Linked DNA regions of Homo sapiens: regions 1, 2 and 3 are each linked to region 4. The links are contacts of gene promoters, found by promoter capture Hi-C in blood cells and fetal thymus (Javierre and others, 2016). All regions are on one chromosome and are shown on one strand. Each heading gives the region's core, a stretch centred on a gene start or on the middle of the fragment in contact. The rest is flanking DNA. Distances are from core to core; before and after follow the strand shown. Region 1 overlaps ABCA1 (ATP binding cassette subfamily A member 1). Region 2 overlaps ABCA1 (ATP binding cassette subfamily A member 1). Region 3 overlaps ABCA1 (ATP binding cassette subfamily A member 1). Region 4 holds the start of SLC44A1 (solute carrier family 44 member 1).

Evidence for each region. Contacts are between HindIII fragments. The CHiCAGO score rates a contact against its expected background, and 5 or more counts as called.
Region 1: a fragment that was not itself captured here is called in contact with the fragment with the promoter of SLC44A1 in region 4 in 1 of 17 cell types (monocytes); the score reaches 7.3 in monocytes.
Region 2: a fragment that was not itself captured here is called in contact with the fragment with the promoter of SLC44A1 in region 4 in 1 of 17 cell types (neutrophils); the score reaches 5.9 in neutrophils.
Region 3: a fragment that was not itself captured here is called in contact with the fragment with the promoter of SLC44A1 in region 4 in 1 of 17 cell types (monocytes); the score reaches 5.3 in monocytes.

What each region holds. Positions count from the first base shown.
Region 1 is chr9:104,871,470-104,875,771 of GRCh38, forward strand. All of the region lies in intron 5 of ABCA1 (ATP binding cassette subfamily A member 1), which reads right to left. Among named protein-coding and RNA genes, the nearest start is that of ABCA1, 55 kb to the right of the region's middle. The HindIII fragment of the contact is 809 bases long and covers 1,258-2,066 here.
Region 2 is chr9:104,902,962-104,906,932 of GRCh38, forward strand. It overlaps ABCA1 (ATP binding cassette subfamily A member 1), which reads right to left. Exons shown (of 50, transcript NM_005502.4): 2 at 653-810. The coding sequence starts at 718. Among named protein-coding and RNA genes, the nearest start is that of ABCA1, 23 kb to the right of the region's middle. RefSeq lists an enhancer at 212-1,124. The HindIII fragment of the contact is 2,929 bases long and covers 646-3,574 here.
Region 3 is chr9:104,852,431-104,856,333 of GRCh38, forward strand. All of the region lies in intron 7 of ABCA1 (ATP binding cassette subfamily A member 1), which reads right to left. Among named protein-coding and RNA genes, the nearest start is that of ABCA1, 74 kb to the right of the region's middle. The HindIII fragment of the contact is 9,731 bases long and covers 1-3,903 here.
Region 4 is chr9:105,242,301-105,246,390 of GRCh38, forward strand. It overlaps SLC44A1 (solute carrier family 44 member 1), which reads left to right and starts at 2,351. Exons shown (of 16, transcript NM_080546.5): 1 at 2,351-2,604. The coding sequence starts at 2,569. It overlaps LOC112268038 (a long non-coding RNA gene), which reads right to left and starts at 3,293. Exons shown (of 3, transcript XR_002956866.2): 1 at 2,719-3,293. RefSeq lists enhancers at 1,993-2,897, 2,898-3,801 and silencers at 2,124-2,723, 2,734-2,873, 3,214-3,293. The HindIII fragment of the contact is 7,272 bases long and covers 1-4,090 here.

The sequences.
Region 1 (4,302 bases), core at 412-2,911, 370 kb before region 4:
CAGAGGGAAAGGATGTCCTGGTCACACTGGCCAGGGCGTGGAAGGGCACAGTCAGCCTGGCTTTGAAGCTCAGAAGGAAATGGAAGATAACACTAAGACATAACATTGACCCAAATGAATTTTGGACCTGAACAGAATGAGAAGAAGAAACAAAGAACCAACATCAGAAAAAGCAAGAAGATAGCTGAGATGAAAACTCTACCTGAAGACCAGAGAGGCAGAAAAATGAGAGAGGACAGCTGGAAGACAAAAGGAGTGAAAAGAAGGTAAGAGATAGGAAGTATGAAGAAACAGAGTCCAGAAACAGGAAAGACTACATCAAACAGAAGGGGAAGAGAGAAAAAGAAAAGAGAGTTTGAGGCATTCAGTTCCCAAGGATGAGCTGGTCTCTCACTGAAAAAAGGGACCAGACACTTCAAACACCACACAACATGGGACTAGAATCAGCCTGCAGGGCCCTGAGAAGTCCAGGCACAAAAAGAACGGAAAAAGATGAGTTTACAAGTTGGGGATGAGATTCTTCCTAAGGCTGGTCTAGGGAAGAATTAACATACACAATGTATAAATAGTTTAATTTTTTTCTAACTTTTAAAATTAACAAAATTTATTAAGGGACATAGTAGTGCTTTGTGGGCACAGAAAAGTGACTCATATTTACCAAGCATTAGGCACACTATTAGCATTATTTTCCAGAATCTTTAAGAACAGCCTATAAAGAAACGTATTATTATTCCCATTTTTCAAATGAGGAAACAGATCTGGAGAATATCTTGCTCAGGGTCATAGAACAAACAAGTGGTAAATTTGAACCCAAACAGCTTTGACTGCAAAGCTTTGGTTCTTTCCACTATATCAGCAATTTAATGAGATGTTTTAAAAATGCTTCATCGTGATATTGGCCTCAAAAGCTGGGGATGGCACCTATGCTTCCTAATGTTGGAATAAGCAACATGGCAGCATAGTGTGGGGAGAAAATGCTAAGCCTAGGAGTCAGACCCCGATTCAACGTACAACTTTACTCTTTAATCTTGGACAACAGACATTACCCTTTCGAGCCTCGGTTTCCTCATCAATGAAATGGAGATAATAATACCAATTTGCCCCTGCTAGTGCTGTTTGAAGCCTTCAATGTAATAATATATGAAAAATGTAAAATGGTATCATTATCCGGTGCAACTTAGTCTGTTGAATAGTGTCGCACTGAGATTGCCTTTTGGTGCCTCAATGCAACAGTGACAAGAGGACCAGAAATGGGAAAGCTTTCAATGAGAAACAAACTGGACTCCCAAATTGCTCTTTGCCACCCACAGAATAAATAAACCTTATGCTGGAAAAGCAGGAGACACGCAACACTGTTCTTGATGTTAACAATTCAAAACTTTTTAAAGGCAGTCTGATATTTGTGGGGATACACACTATTCTGTAATCGAATGCAATTGTGTTTTCTATTCTTGTCTGAGTAAAGCTGATCTTTGATTTGATTTAGTTCAAGTAATATTTCAACATTGCAGTGCAGCGTTGCTCCCCACCCCCACCTGCTTACAGCCCAGCTGGGCCCAGGCCCTTGCCCTGGATGGAAATCAAAGACCTGGTTTCTGAGATGCAGCCTGGCTTTGACAGGTCTGGGAAAACTCATGGTAGTGGAAAGGTTTCCAAATATAAAATTCTAAGGCCTCAAATCAAAACTTTTGACAAGTGCATACATACAGAACGTGAATTGCAATCACCTAAAGATTTCAAAGAATTTCCATTTTGATGACATAATGTTGACACATGTATCACCAGATCTCCCAACAAGATGACACACTGGGGTTCCACAAGGACAGAAAATATAGTCTGAGGCTGTAACCTCAACTTTAGCAGCTGCCTGAATGGGTGAGGGGGTTCAGACAGAAAATGAGAAGTGGCTGTGAGTCACAGGATGTTCTTTCTAGATGGGCCTTGGGAAACATTCCATCGGTGCCTGAAGCCAGGAAGTGGAGTGAATCTGGCATTTCTTTCAGAAGCCCTCTTGTCTCCTTTCTCATCCCAGCCAGCCCATGCCCCATGTCCTGTGACTTTAGGGAAGCTTCTGGCTACTCAGAGCTGCTCTCTTTAGGATATAACAACAACAGAGCACGAGAAACTGGAATTCTGGTCCTATTACTGCCCCTTGCCAGCTGTGCTTTCTTAGGCAAGTTACTTGGCCTCTCTGAACTTCGGCTCCTTCATGTGTGTATCCCCTGCATTTTATGATGATTGTAAAAATGCAGTGAGCTTAAGAACAAGCCTGGTACCTATGCTGGGCCAGGCACTGTACTAAGTGCTTCCCCTTATTCGTCCATTAATTTGCCACAATAGTCCTGAGGGAGGTACTATTGTTATTCCATTTGAGGAAACTGAGGCACAGAGATGTATGGAATTATCCAAGGTTACACAGCTGATAAGCATCAAGCCAAGATTTGAACCTAGGCCATCTGGCTGCCAAGTCTGTTCTCTTAACACGAAGGTATATTTCCCAGGGAATATTTACAAGATGTTAATTTTCTACCCACTTCCCTCAACTCCCTGCCACAGCCAACTATCTTGCCATGTCACCAAAGCCACCCTGCTCCCTGGAGCTCACGTCTTTTTGATTTTCAAAAATCAAACCAGAATCAAAGGTCCACCCCACTGAGTCCTTAGTACTATCAGTAAATCTGACAGCCAGAGAGGCATGACCCTTTTCCCTAAGTAAAATCCAGTATAACCCTGGGGACTAATTTCCAAAAAGATTAGTCAGAGCCATATCAGAAAGGCCAAACAGGCTGGGCATGGTGGCTCACACCTGTAATCCCAGCACTTTGGGAGGCCAACGCACCTGAAGTCAAGAGTTCAACATGGCAAACATGGTCAGGAGTTCAAAGATGGTCAGGAGTTCAAATGGCCAACATGGCAAAACCCCGTCTCTACTAAAAAATACAAAAATTAGCCAGGCCTGGTGGTAAGTGCCTGTAATCCCAGCTATTCGGGAGGCTGAGGCAGGAAGAATTGTTTGAACCCGGGAGGCAGAGGTTGCAGTGAACCAAGATCGTGCCGCTCCACTCACTCCAGCCTGGGCAACAGAGTAAGACTCCGTCTCAAAACAAAAACAAAAACAAACAAACAAACAAAAAAACAGAGCCGGGCGCAGTGGCTCATGCCTGTAATCTCAACACTTTGGGAGGCTGAGGCAGGTGGATCAACAGGTCAGGAGTTCGAGACCAGCCTGACCAACATGGTAAAACCCCATCTCTACTGAAAATACAAAAATTAGCAGGGCAGCCAGCCGCCCCGTCCGGGAGGGAGGTGGGGGGCAGCCCCCGCCCGGCCAGCCGCCCCGTCCGGGAGGGAGGTGGGGGCCAGCCCCCGCCCGGCCAGCCACCCCGTCCGGGAGGGAGGTGGGGGGCAGCCCCCGCCCGGCCAGCCGCCCCGTCCGGGAGGTGGGGGGCGCCTCTGCCCGGCCGCCCCTTCTGGGAAGTGAGGAGCCCCTCTACCCGGCCGCCGCCCCATCTGGGAGGTGTACCCAGCAGCTCATTGAGAATGGGCCATGATGACAATGGCAGTTTTGTCGAATAGAAAAGGGGGAAATGTGGGGAAAAGATAGAGAAATCAGATTGTTGCTGTGTCTGTGTAGAAAGAAGTAGACATAGGAGATTCCATTTTGTTCTGTACTAAGAAAAATTCTTCTGCCTTGAAAAAAAATAAATAAATAAAAATTAAAAAATTAGCAGGGTGTTGTGGCATGCGCCTGTAATCCCAGCTTCTCAGGAGGCTGAGGCAGGAGAATCGCTTGAATCCAGGAGGCGGTGGTCGCAGTGAGCCGAGATCACACCACTACACTCCATGCACTCCATCCTGGGCAACAGAGTGAGACTCCATCTCAAAAAAAAAAAAAAAAAAGAAAGGCCTAACAAGCCAGATTCATGCCATGAACATAAGGGAAGTGGCAGCTGAGCCACTGACTCCACACAAAAGTGCAGCTGAAGGGAGAGAGAAACTCCATACTCAGTCGGGATGGCAGGCTGCTGCCCCGGATCTCTCTGCCAGTCCTGTCCCTTTCCGCCCCTTGACCTCAACAAGGTGATATGTCCTCCAAAGGGTTCATCTCCAGCACAGTGACAAAATGCCCAAAGATATTTCTTATCTTTTCCTGGCAAAATCCTTATAAGCTTCAGAGAGCTCCACAACCTTAAAAAAAAAAGGTATTTCAGAATCCCCCAAGTCAGGAGCCAAAGTAGGCCAGTTGCAGCCCTAGTCCTCACTGGAGAAGGCAAGATAAGGAACTCCAGGCCATGGCAGAGA
Region 2 (3,971 bases), core at 860-3,359, 340 kb before region 4:
TAGAGAGACAAAGAGCTGACGTCTGAGTTTCAGGGAGTTCACTCTGCTCTACAGCCCTCACATCCCTCTGTGGAAGAGTTCCATTCACCTGCGCATTAAAGATGATCTCCAGATTACTCAAAGCATTATTGGCCCATCTGGGAAGTGAATGGCTTAGAACCCTCTGCAGAAATAAAACAAGTCTCAGTTATTATATTCCTCCAGGCCTGAAGGAAAGAATCCAGATTGACACCAAGATACCCAGTATTGATCTCTAAGAGTGGGGCCACTAACTCACTTCACCCACAGCTTCCAGAAATACAGGGGCCCATTAGGGGCTTTTGGAGAGCCAGGTGGCTCCCAGGGCTGCAGCAAAAGGAAAAAGTGGGGTGCTCAGGGGCGATTCGGAGCCAGGTCCTAGGGATCAGAACTCATGCCTGGGCAGTAGCACAAACCAAAGCTACTATTTCTACCTGGCTGCAAATCTGCCCTCTATGATAAGCCACATGCCATATCCGGACCACACAGTCCTGTGTCCATAAGAGCCAGATTCCATCAATCCCTGTGTGAAAACCAACACAGCTTCCTTCCCTCCCTCCCTCCTCCAATCCCCAACTCAAAACCACAAAGAAAAAATGAGAGAACCCCCCGCTGCTGAAAAACCCAAGCTTACTGTTTGTCTTCTTCTGAAAGTGAGGTTCTTCCACAGCAGCAACCTCAGCTGAGGCCAACAAGCCATGTTCCCTCAGCCAGCACCCCCAGCGTGTGGCTCGGGAGCCCTGGAAGGCAGCGGCCAGAGCTCACAGCAGGGACGCCGTGGCTGGTCATTAACTGAAAGATAAAGCAGGAGGGGAAACAGCCATCAGTTATTGCTGCAAAGCCATACACCAATGAGGACTGCTAATCCAGCCCTCTCAGCTGAGACCTCCAACACACAGCTCTGCATCATGACTGCTTCTCAATGGATCATGAGTCACCAGCTCCCAGCCTCTGGGTTCACCCACAAAGAGGGACTCGGGAGGTGTTCCGACAGCAGGCTAGGAGCTACGTGTTATGGTCCTAATCATTTTAGTTCTATAGATGTTATCATCTGGGAATGAAGAATGCATTTCTGAAAATAGACCTCTCTCAGGTGGCCAAAAACACTGAGGATGGAAATGGCATACTGGAATCCCAGAGACCTACCTCTCTTTTCTAAGAAAATGCCTCCCCTTACATACAAAGTCAGCAGCATTTGTAAATTTTGCCTCAAGCCTGGAGTGACTTATACTATTCCCTGAACTTCCTTACATACTAATTTTCAGTGGGTTATACAACTGAGTCCTTCAAATGATAAAAAGCACCATCGGCCAGGCGTGGTGGCTCAAGCCTATAATCCCAGCACTTTGGGAGGCCGAGGCAGGCGGATCACGAGGTCAAGAAATCGAGACCATCCTAGCCAATACGGTGAAACCCCGTCTCTACTAAAAATACAAAAATTAGCTGGGCATGGTGGCAGGCACCTGTAGTCCCAGCTACTTGGGAGGCTGAGGCAGGAGAATCGCTGAACCTGGCAGGCGGAGGTGCAGTGAGCCAAGATTGTGCCACTACACTCCAGCATGGCGACAGAGCGAGACTCTGTCTCAAAAAAAAAAAAAAAAAGCACCATCAATAAAGCAGTTTCCTAATCTGGAAAACCACAACGTGCCTTAGATGAGTGTGAGTAAACACCAAGAAAATGCTACCGACACCTGGCTCTCAGGTAATGAGGACAACCCTAGCGCTGTGTCTCTGGAAAGAAAACAGCATCCCATGGAGAAACAAGTCTGCTATGGCAGGCTCAGGGCATCAACTGTGAAACCGACAAACAAGCTCCCATGGTCAGCACATATGCACACTTCTGGCCTTGTTCCACCTGCACCTGAACACACCGCCCCCCTACTCCGTTGGGTGTCACAGGTGCCTCCTTGGAGGACTGTTTGCCATGCTAGGGCAAGAAGGTCTTCTCGTGAACAAGGGATACTACATTCTGTGTATCCCAGCCACCCATCCAGCAGTTACCCTTATTTAATGCTGGAATAGTCCCAAGTAGTTATATTAAAGTTAAAGCTGGGGAGGGGGCAGAAGATGAAAAATGGAAGGGAGGACACACAGGTGAAAATTCGGCCCTGCTGGCACTTGGTAGCCATGAACTCTCCTAGCTGTGCTTATGAAATGGCTCAGTGAATCACTGTGGCCTCTAGAGGAGTAGGGGCAAGGGTAGGGTGGGACACTGGGCATGAGGAACAAGGAGCAGAAGGAACTAAGAATGCAGTAGCGAGGTATGGATACAAAACCAAGCGCTAGACTAGAAATCTGTGAGTCCAAATGAGATCTCCATGCCAAGGTCAGTCTCTAGTAGAACAATACCCTTTTATCTACCACCCAACAAGGACTTGGATTAAAACTTCTAGAAAAGTCAAGAGATTGGAGGAAATTGCAGTGTCTGAGAAGAAAAGACAGCCTACCACTATGTATTCCAATTCATTCATTGACAGTCCAATAAATCAAGAAATTCTCTGAAATAGTCAAGCCTTAGGACCTATTTCTTTTCCTTACCATTTGCTCAGCAAACTTCTAGAAGGACACAGGCCTCCAAAGTTTCTTACTCCAAAAAGAGGAAGAGTTAAACCAGCACTGCATCAGTTTGTTCAAAGATGACAACTGGCAGCACAGCACTGGCAACCAGAGCAGCATTGTGAGACACATGCTTGTCATCCCAAATTGTTTTCTAAGTGGCTCAGGACAGAGCTTGCATTCCAGAGACACTGAAATAAATAATTAGCTAGATTTTTCTCATACAGAAGCTGCTCTCCAGGAATCAGTTCGTTGATTTAGAAGCTACATGAATCTCTTGAAATCCCCAAGGTAACAATGAGGAGGGGACAATTAAAAAAGGAAAACTATCAGAAAGAGCCCAGGCATGAATTAGCCCCGGCTTCCCAACTATGTGCCCCTGGCCAAGGCTTTATGCTCTCTAAGCATCAATTTCCTCATGGTAAAATAAGGATGACAATACTTACCTTGTATGGTGTTCAACTGTGTTCTACTGTGGATTCAACGAGATAATATAAATAATTTCCCAACACAGTACATGGCTTAATTTAAGTGCCAAAGCAATGTGAGTTCCCTTCTCCCCATTTATCTTTCTTCATTCCAACAATATCCTCTAGCTGAGAAATGGTTATATCCTGTCCAAACAGGACGTTCCATTATTTCTAGCAAATCCATTGTGGGTTTCTGGAAAGATAGGAGGGGCAAAGCAGTAAGGATGAAATCTTAATAGCCTAGTGTTGCAGTACCCAGAGCCAAACCCAAATATAGAATATCACCTCCCCTAAACCCTGAGTGGAAAAGCTCAAAGGAAGAGAAGACACACCTCTACACAACGTTCATGAGAAGAAGGGAAGGATGAGTTTTCTTGGACAGCATTTTCTTGGAAGTAAAGTGTCTGGGTTTCAAGAAAAAGGTTCTGACTCCAAGGACTCTCCAGGAAGCACATGGAGAAGGTTGCTAAGAAGTAGCATAGAGCCACAGTAGAAAGTTCTACCGTGGCTTTGCTGGGCACACTTAGGCAAGCTTCCTGCTCCAATTCCTCCCACCCACCTTGGCACTGACCTGGCCTCCTGCACAATTTGCTCCCCCAACTCAGAACACAATGATCAATACTGGGAGCAATTCTGTCCTAAGAGGAGAGTTTGGCAATGCCCGGCCCCTTCTGCTCAGGTAACTGAAGCCAAAGGGACATTTCCACATCAGTTTTCCAAGTTAGTGAACAAACAAACCAAAATCAAAAAAAAAAAAAAAAAAGATATAAAAGAGACAGTACTATGTACTAGATTTCTCAATGTTTCAAATGCAGTACACTCACTTCTGCCCTCATACACATTTCCAGTTACTGGCTGGAAAGGATCCCACTTCACAGTCATCCCAGTCAATAGGCCACTCTGATCCTGCTCCTAGATGACCGCAAC
Region 3 (3,903 bases), core at 852-3,351, 390 kb before region 4:
AACGCATTCAAACGCTTCATTTTTTGCTGTTTCTAAACATAGTTAAATACATCTACTACCACATAATTCAGAGGAAAAAATTAAACCTGTATCTTAGATCTGGCAACAATATTTAATGAAGAAATAGTATAACTAAGGTGAAAATGTCTGTGTAAATGGAGTTGAGCAGTCATATTAACACACTGCTATATCTACCAGCTAGTGCTCTTCTTTTCCCATAAGAATGAGGTGAACATAGAGTCTGAAGAGTAAATCTACACAGTGTGTCATTCCACCCATTACCAACCCATGGGGATTGCGGCTGCTTGCTGGGAGAAAGCAAGTAAACAGGTGGGCAGTCAAATCACACAAAGCCAAACAAAATCTGATACTTTCCAACAATGTCCGGGTTCCAGACAGGAGAACACGAGCAAGTGTTCTCTCCTGCAAAAACCCACACAGACGCTTTAAGGACTGCATGTAACAAGCTGAAGTATCTAGCCCTAAAAAGCCATGAGGCTGAAGGTAACAACAAGCCCCATCTGTATTCTGGGTCCTTGTCTAAGAGTCAAGAAGAAGCTAAATAAAGACCCCTCAAGACAAGGATGACTTTGTTCACTCCTTATCCATCTGCTTCTTCGATCTGTACACAGCTCAGCTGTGACATTACTTGTCTTCTGGGAGCCTCGGGGCACCCTCACTTTCCCTTCTTTCCCTCATGAACCAAGATCCACTTGGTGGGAATGTGCTAGGCACACTGGAAGACACGTGGACAGTGGAACCACTGGTTCCACAAAAACCACTTCTTTTTTTTCCCCACGTTATTGAGATGGAGATAAATCTGCATGCCTGGACTTCCAACCTTAAGGATCAGACACCATTTTCACATCACTGAGGCAATGGTGAGTCAAGGACAGAGCCCAAACCTAGCTCATTCAACCCCACATTCCTCCCACTACAGCCCACAGTGTCTGTGTTGGCAAAGACTGCTGTGAGGGAGCTGGTCGAGAGGTCATCAGTGAAACTGGAACGAGGACAGCTCTCACTCTGTAGACCCAGGACCTACAAAGAATTCCTCAAATTCCCAGACTCAGCCTTCAGCCTGGATCTCAATGCCCATCAGAATGAAAGCTCCAAGTGCATCACAACTGCCTTGTTGGTGGTCGAACTTCAGTGCCTAGAACAGTGCTGGTATAAAGCAGACATACAATAAACACTTGATGGATTTTTTTCGATGAATGTCTCATACCTAGTTCAGAGATGTTCTCCTCCCAAAGTCACCTCTGTTTGGTTTGTACATTAAAAACCCTAATAGGTGATGCTTATTATGCTTTAGAGTCACTTTCCAAATATGGGCAAGAAAAAGCAGAGAGCTGCAGAGGGGTCAACAAAAGCCAAAGGCACTGAGGGAACACTTCAAATATATGATAAACTATTCCTTCCAATCAAGAAAGCTACAGCAGACTGAATATCCCCTGCAAAGATGTCCACACCCTATTCCTGGAGTCTGTGAATATGCACATTTCATAGCAAATGCACTGTGTAGATGTAATTAAAGTTATGAACCTCAAAATAAGGAGATTATCCTGGATTATGTGAATGGGCCCAAACTAAACACCTGAGCCCTTAAAAGTAAAGAACTTTCTCTGACTGGAGACAGATGTGACAGGAGGCGTCAGAGGTTTAAAGTGTGAGAGATACTCAACCCACTTGTGGGAGAGGAGTCACATGAAAAGCATAAGAAGGAATGATGGCAACCTTTAGGAGCAAAAACCAGCCCCTGCTGACAGCCAGCAAGGAAATGGACTTCAGTCCTACAACTGCACGGGACTGAATTCATCTGATATCCTGGATGAGCTCCAAAGCAGATTCATCTTCAGAGCCCCCCCAAAAAAACACAGCCCCACAAACACCTTGATATCAGCCCTGTGAGCCTCTAAGAAGTAGACCTAGGTGAGCTCTACTGTATCCTGGCTTCTGGCCTTATGAAATAATAAATGTATGTGGTTATAAACTGCTAAGTATTTGGTGACTTGTTATAGTAGCAATAAAAAAAAAAAGTACAATCGGAAGCAAATCAATCTCTCGGGCCAAAATTTGCTGGTCCACTACTATGGCTCCTTCCTGCAGTCCAAAACAGATTGGAGGTTTCTGTGAGACAGGAAGGTGGCCCTCTCCTCGCTCTGGGAAAGGTACATGCTGCTTTAGGAAGGACCCAAGAGAAAGTTAAGAAAAGTTCACCTGCCCAGCACACTCTACAGCAAAATACACCTTGCTGAGCAGCAAGACAAAAGAAGCCCCTGCCAGGTGGCCCTGAGCTCCTCCTAGAAGTTGTTAACTCAACAGTACAAATACAATGAGCGCACTCCATAACAAGTCTCCCTCATGACTAAGTGCATTTATCCCACAGATAATATTTCATATATCCACCCACCTTTGTTCTCATCAAAAGGATATCTTTTGAGTTGAGTCCAGCTCCTAGAAAATACCTGACACATAATAAGAACTGAATAAATATTGCTCAATGCATGAGTAAGATTTTTAAGTAAAAAGCAGAGAACACCTAATGGAAACTGCTCTTAACCCCAGGGAACTTTAAAAACACAACAGCGTTCTGACATCCAGTATTAATTTTCACACAAGGTACGGACTGAGACATAAATAAGAATCTTTGGGTGAAAAGTCTTGACAATATCTGAGCAAGAATGCAGTTTTTCACTGAAATACTCACCAGGACCACTTCGCTTGGTATGAGTTCTAACACTGATCTACAGAAGAAAACTTCTATCTTTTTTTTCTTTTTCTGAGACAGAGTCTCACTCTGTCACGCTGGCTGGAATGCAGTGGAGTGATCTCAGCTCACTGCAACTTCCACCTCCTGGGTTCAAGCGATTCTTGTGCCTCAGCCTCTTCAGTAGCTGGGATTACAGGTGTGCGCCACCACGCCTGCCTGGCAAATATGTGTATTTTTAGTAGAGAGGGGATTTCACCACGTTGGCCAGGCTGGTCTTGAACTCCTGGCCTCAAGTGATTCATCCGCCTCGGCCCCCACAATATGCTGGGATTACAACAGATGTGAGCCACTGTGCCTGGCTGAAAACTTCTATCTTGACGCAATTGTTTTCAAGGACATAATTTCTACTACTCATGTCAATTAAATTATCAACTTCTATTTATTGAGCACCTATTGTGTGCCAGGCCCCACACCAGGCTCTTCATATGTGTAACCAATAATCACAACAAAGAGTCAAATATATTATGTGTATGTAGAAGAAGAGAAAACTGAGGCTTACAGGGACTAAATAATTTATCCGACATCAATGCTGGTAAAATATTCAAATGCAATATTCAAACCCAGACCCAGCTGACCCTCCCACACTGCCATACTTTCCCCATGTTGCCAAAACACTGCTTTCCAGAGCACCCAGATTCTGAAGGAGGCCCAGGAGAAACTCACAATACCCTTGGCTGGAAACAGGGAAACACTCACGCACACACAAAAGGAGAAATGTTTCAAAATATGTCTCTCGTGAAATTCCACTTTTGGTACAGAAGCACATATTGAAAGAAGAGTTTCTCTCCCCATCATGTTGGGCTTTGCATCTCCGGTTGCTGCTACTGCTGCACTTCTTGGCACAGTTAACTGCCCATGTGCAATGTCATCACATGTCACATCCATCTACCATCACAAATGTTGAAATTTCAACCAAGCAGCAATAGAAAAAGGCTGCTTAATGCAAATCAAGTATCAGTCCCAGCATTCCAATTAAGGCCCTGCTTAATTCAATAAGTAAGAGTCACATTTCAAAATGTTTGGAAGTCATTTCATCCTAAAGCCTTCCTCAGAAATCATCTTTACACAAAACAATCCTGATCACTCATTCTACTCTAACTCAAGAGCCCCATTTTGAAGAGAGGTCTCTT
Region 4 (4,090 bases), core at 1,101-3,600:
TGCAAGAGCTGTTAGTTTCCCTCATGCTAATGACGAAGTATAATTTTGAAACATCAGATTCATATGCATATATGGTGCATACATACATAATTGGTGTATTTACAAAGCACCTTGCAGAATCTTAGAACTCTTAGTTCTATTAACACTTAAAGGGAAAACCAGAGTGCAGATCAGTCAAGCACAACGGACTGTAGTTGCTTTCAATTATATTCACCCATTATCTATGTCTAGGAAAGAGATCTCTAAAAAAGCAAAATACATTTTATGAAGCACTGCCACAGTCTGTTACGCATTTATCTCCTTCTACAGTTCCAATTACAGAATAAGCACTAGCTACTACACGGAACGGCAGCACTAGCCAAAAAGATTTTTCTAATCTGAGAGAAATGCTCCCATATTGACTCTGCAAAGAGAAACAACTCCCCTTTCCTTGACTATAAAGAAGGAAGACAGATGGCTTCTTGTTTAGGACTGTAGTTTTACTTTCAGCCTCCTCCCCGAGTTAAAAACAAGATGTACTTTTCTGGCTTTGAGGGAAAATCTCAAGGGAATGTTTTTTATTCTTGGCTGCACTGAATAATTCAACAAACATTTGAGAGAGCTGAGGGAGATACAAAGGAGAAAATACTTTTCCTTGTTCTCAGGGAGTTTACAATCTAATTCTGGAGTTTACAACCAGAATTGGGACTAGAACCATTAGTTTTATGTCTTCACTTGTATTTATTGGTTTAATGGTTATGGGAAACACATGTAGGATTCGCCAGCTCCGTGGTATGGTGGACCCTCTGATTAACCTGAAAGGAAACTAGAAAGAATGCAGAAGAATTCAAGATCTCAATCAGTTGAGTACTTGCTGACCTAGCAGCACTTTCTTATGTTATTTAATCTTGACCACAAGCCTTTGCAGTCATCCCTGCTACCAGCATTTCACAGAAGCGGACAATGAGATTTGGAGAGATAACTCGTCCACAGTCACGAACTCAGGAAATGGCATAGGAAAACATCAATTAGGAATTCTTCTTCCCTGGCCCTTTCTGTAGCTGTCCCCTTACAGGCTACCATTCCAACTTTCCTTGGCTTAGATTCCCTTTCAGTGCATGTAAAGTCAATTTAATTCTGTGTTCTTTTCTTCCCTCTATACTTTAACTAATCTTTAAAACTTGATGTCTCATATTTGGTGAATCAGTCCTTTTGGAAGTCTCACTCCCTTGCAGCTTTGCAAATAAAGTTTTTCTTTTCTTTCCTGTGGCTGTCTTTTGAGACATTCTTTGACAAGATGAAATGACATATGAAGGCTATAACAGTGCCTGATAATGTGGGGTTTTTTTTAACATCATTATCTTTAGTTTTATTTCTTTCACTTTTTAACTGTTTTCACCTCATACTGTATTTCCTAACGACTCGTTTGGAATTGTAAATTTCTTGAAGGTAGTTACCACGTCTACTCTAACTTGTTGCTACTTCCTTGAGTCTTACTGATTTAGCAACAGGAACTTGGTAAGTCTCTTTTGCTCGCCTCTTTATTCCCAGTACTAGTCACTGGAACGTAGTGTGTCTTCAGTAAGTATTTTTAATATGAATAAATTAATGTCCCCTTATTGTTTTTTGTAGACTATCCTGTATAAGAAAGTTTAGCTTAGATCCAGTATGGCTTTGACTTGCGAGCCTGGATAACTTTTTGCCTTTTCCTCATTTCTGGCTATTTATTACCATTTCAACCTTGGGAACATTTCATTAGGTTCTTGGTCCCTTTCAAGCCTCAGTTTCCACATCAGCAAAATGGGGACAGTAGCAACAGATGCTTGTTTCTTCCCGTCTTCTTATCACCTATTCCTTCTCCAGGAAAGGTTTCTTGTGTACGCTTTCCTCTGGAGAAAAAAAACAGCCGACGGGGCGGTAAGAAGCCATCAGGATCCTGAGTTGTGCGTCCAGTAGGGAGAGGGAGAAGTCCCGCTTGCCTCCTAGATCCGGAAGCAATCCGGCCCCTTTTTGGCAGCGAGTTGGCCCGGTCTTTGGCTGCCTCAGACCGCGTTGCCCTCCAGCCTCGAGGCAGAGAGCTGCCTCGGTGCCACAGCTAAATAAGCCCGGCGCCGCGCAGCCTCTGACACGCGCGGAAGGGCCCGGCCTTGTTCTGGCTGCCGCCGCCCTGCCACCAGCACGGCGCTGCACTGGGGGCGGGGAGTCTGATGGGAGACGCGCGCGGCGCTGAGGAGGCGGCGGCCCGGGAGAGGGAGCGGGAGAGGGACTGGGCGCGGGAGGCGGGAGGCGGGGGGACAGAGGGAGGCGCCGCCGCCGCCGCCGCCCGCCCCTTTCCGCTGGGGAGCAGCTGCTGCAGCAGGAGCAGAGCAGGAGACGCGTAGCCGCCGTCGCCGCCGCCGGGGGATGTGGCCGGCGCCTGCCTCTAGCCGCGCCGCCTCTTGAGTACCAGCCGCCGCTGCAGCCGCCGCCGCCGCCTAGCCGTGCGGTGCCAGGCCGCGCCCTCCCCGGGCGCCCGCCGGCTCGCATGCCGAGGGGCTCCGGGGCGTAGCTGCGCGCCCGGCGCCGCCTCCGGGCTCCTTCGGCCCCGCCATGGGCTGCTGCAGCTCCGCCTCCTCCGCCGCGCAGGTGAGGGGCTCCCGCCTCCCGGCCGCCCGCCCGGATGCCTCCCGTGCGCCGCGTCGCGCGGCGGGCGCCCGCCGCCCGATACCTCTCGCTGTCCCCAGCCTCCCCTGAGCGCACCGTGCAGTCCAAAGACCCCCACTCCGCCTTTCCGTCCGCCGGGTCCCGCCGATGCCCGTGCGCTGGCTCCGCGGCTGCCGACTCAAAGGCGCCTCTGCGCGGCGCCTAGTGCGCCCTCAGCTCTTCCCGGCCCCTTCCCCAGTCGGCCCCCTCCTCCCAGTCACACCTGAGCTGCCCGTCCCGCCCGCCTGCAGGTAGAGGCTGCACTGGCGCCTCCTCTGCCCCAGGTGGCATCCCCTTCCCTGTTCTTCCGGGCCTGGCTCCTCTCTTCCACCTCCGTGGAGTCTCCCCGCCATCCGCCGCCCGTTTTCTGTGCTCCTCGCAGGTGTACCCCCAGCAAGAGCTCTTCACCTCTCCCACCGAATTCCAGTTTCTGCTTCATTAGATATTCTGTCCCTTTTCTCTTGCCCGCTGCCCCCTGGCTGGGTTCAGATGGTTTCAGCGGGTCCCGGAGCCCTTCCACGGCCCGCTCCGCAGACCTCGCTTGCTCGCTTGCACCCCATCCCCCCTTAGTGCCGTGACCCGGGCCCCGCGGCCTCCCCGCACTCGGAGGCCCCTGCGGGAGCGCCGACTCTGGGCTGGGAAGGAGATTGGGCACCTGGTGGGTGACGGGAGCGCTACGGAAACTCCCTCTTTGTTGCCAGTGTAACAGGAGGAAGAGGTTCCGAATTTAGTTTTTCTGTGGGCACTGGCTGAATGTTGTCGCTGAGGGCTGAGATGCAGAGATTTCTCTCAGCTTCTACCCTGCCCCCATCCAAATTTCGCCAACCTCCTTCTCTCGGATCCGAGCCCTTAACCTGGGTGGAAATGTTTAGACAACTGTACGAGGATCAAATGTAATAGAACTCGACTACTGGCCACTAATAACTGAGAGGACCTGTTTGTAAATTACCTAATTTAGTGGATTAGCGAGTGTATTTACAAATACTATAAAAAGCAATCAGGAATACTGCATCAAACTGTCTTGTGGTGGTGTATGAAAAATAGGCTCTGACAACGCCTGGGATGTAATCTCACAGTTTCATTAGCGTAGTTTCATTAACTGTGGTCTGTGATTTGTTTGTTTTAGGGGGCAGAAAAGGGCTCTTGTTTTTAGAAATAAAGGATGGTTGGTTCTTGGTGAAGAAAAACGCTAGTTTGGGGGGAAAAAATTCCTCCAGAAAGCTAGCATCTGTGATAATGCCAGAAGTGTTTTTGCTGCTGCTAAATGACTATATATAACTCAGTTTTAAATAACCTGCATACTTGTTCTGAAAATCTGAGATCTGTTAGAGAGAAAATGACTAGAATTGCAGATGAATGGGGGACATTTGTGTTTTATTAGGTATCCATCCTATCATCCTATTCCTCCAGTCTTTTTTTTTTTTTTTTG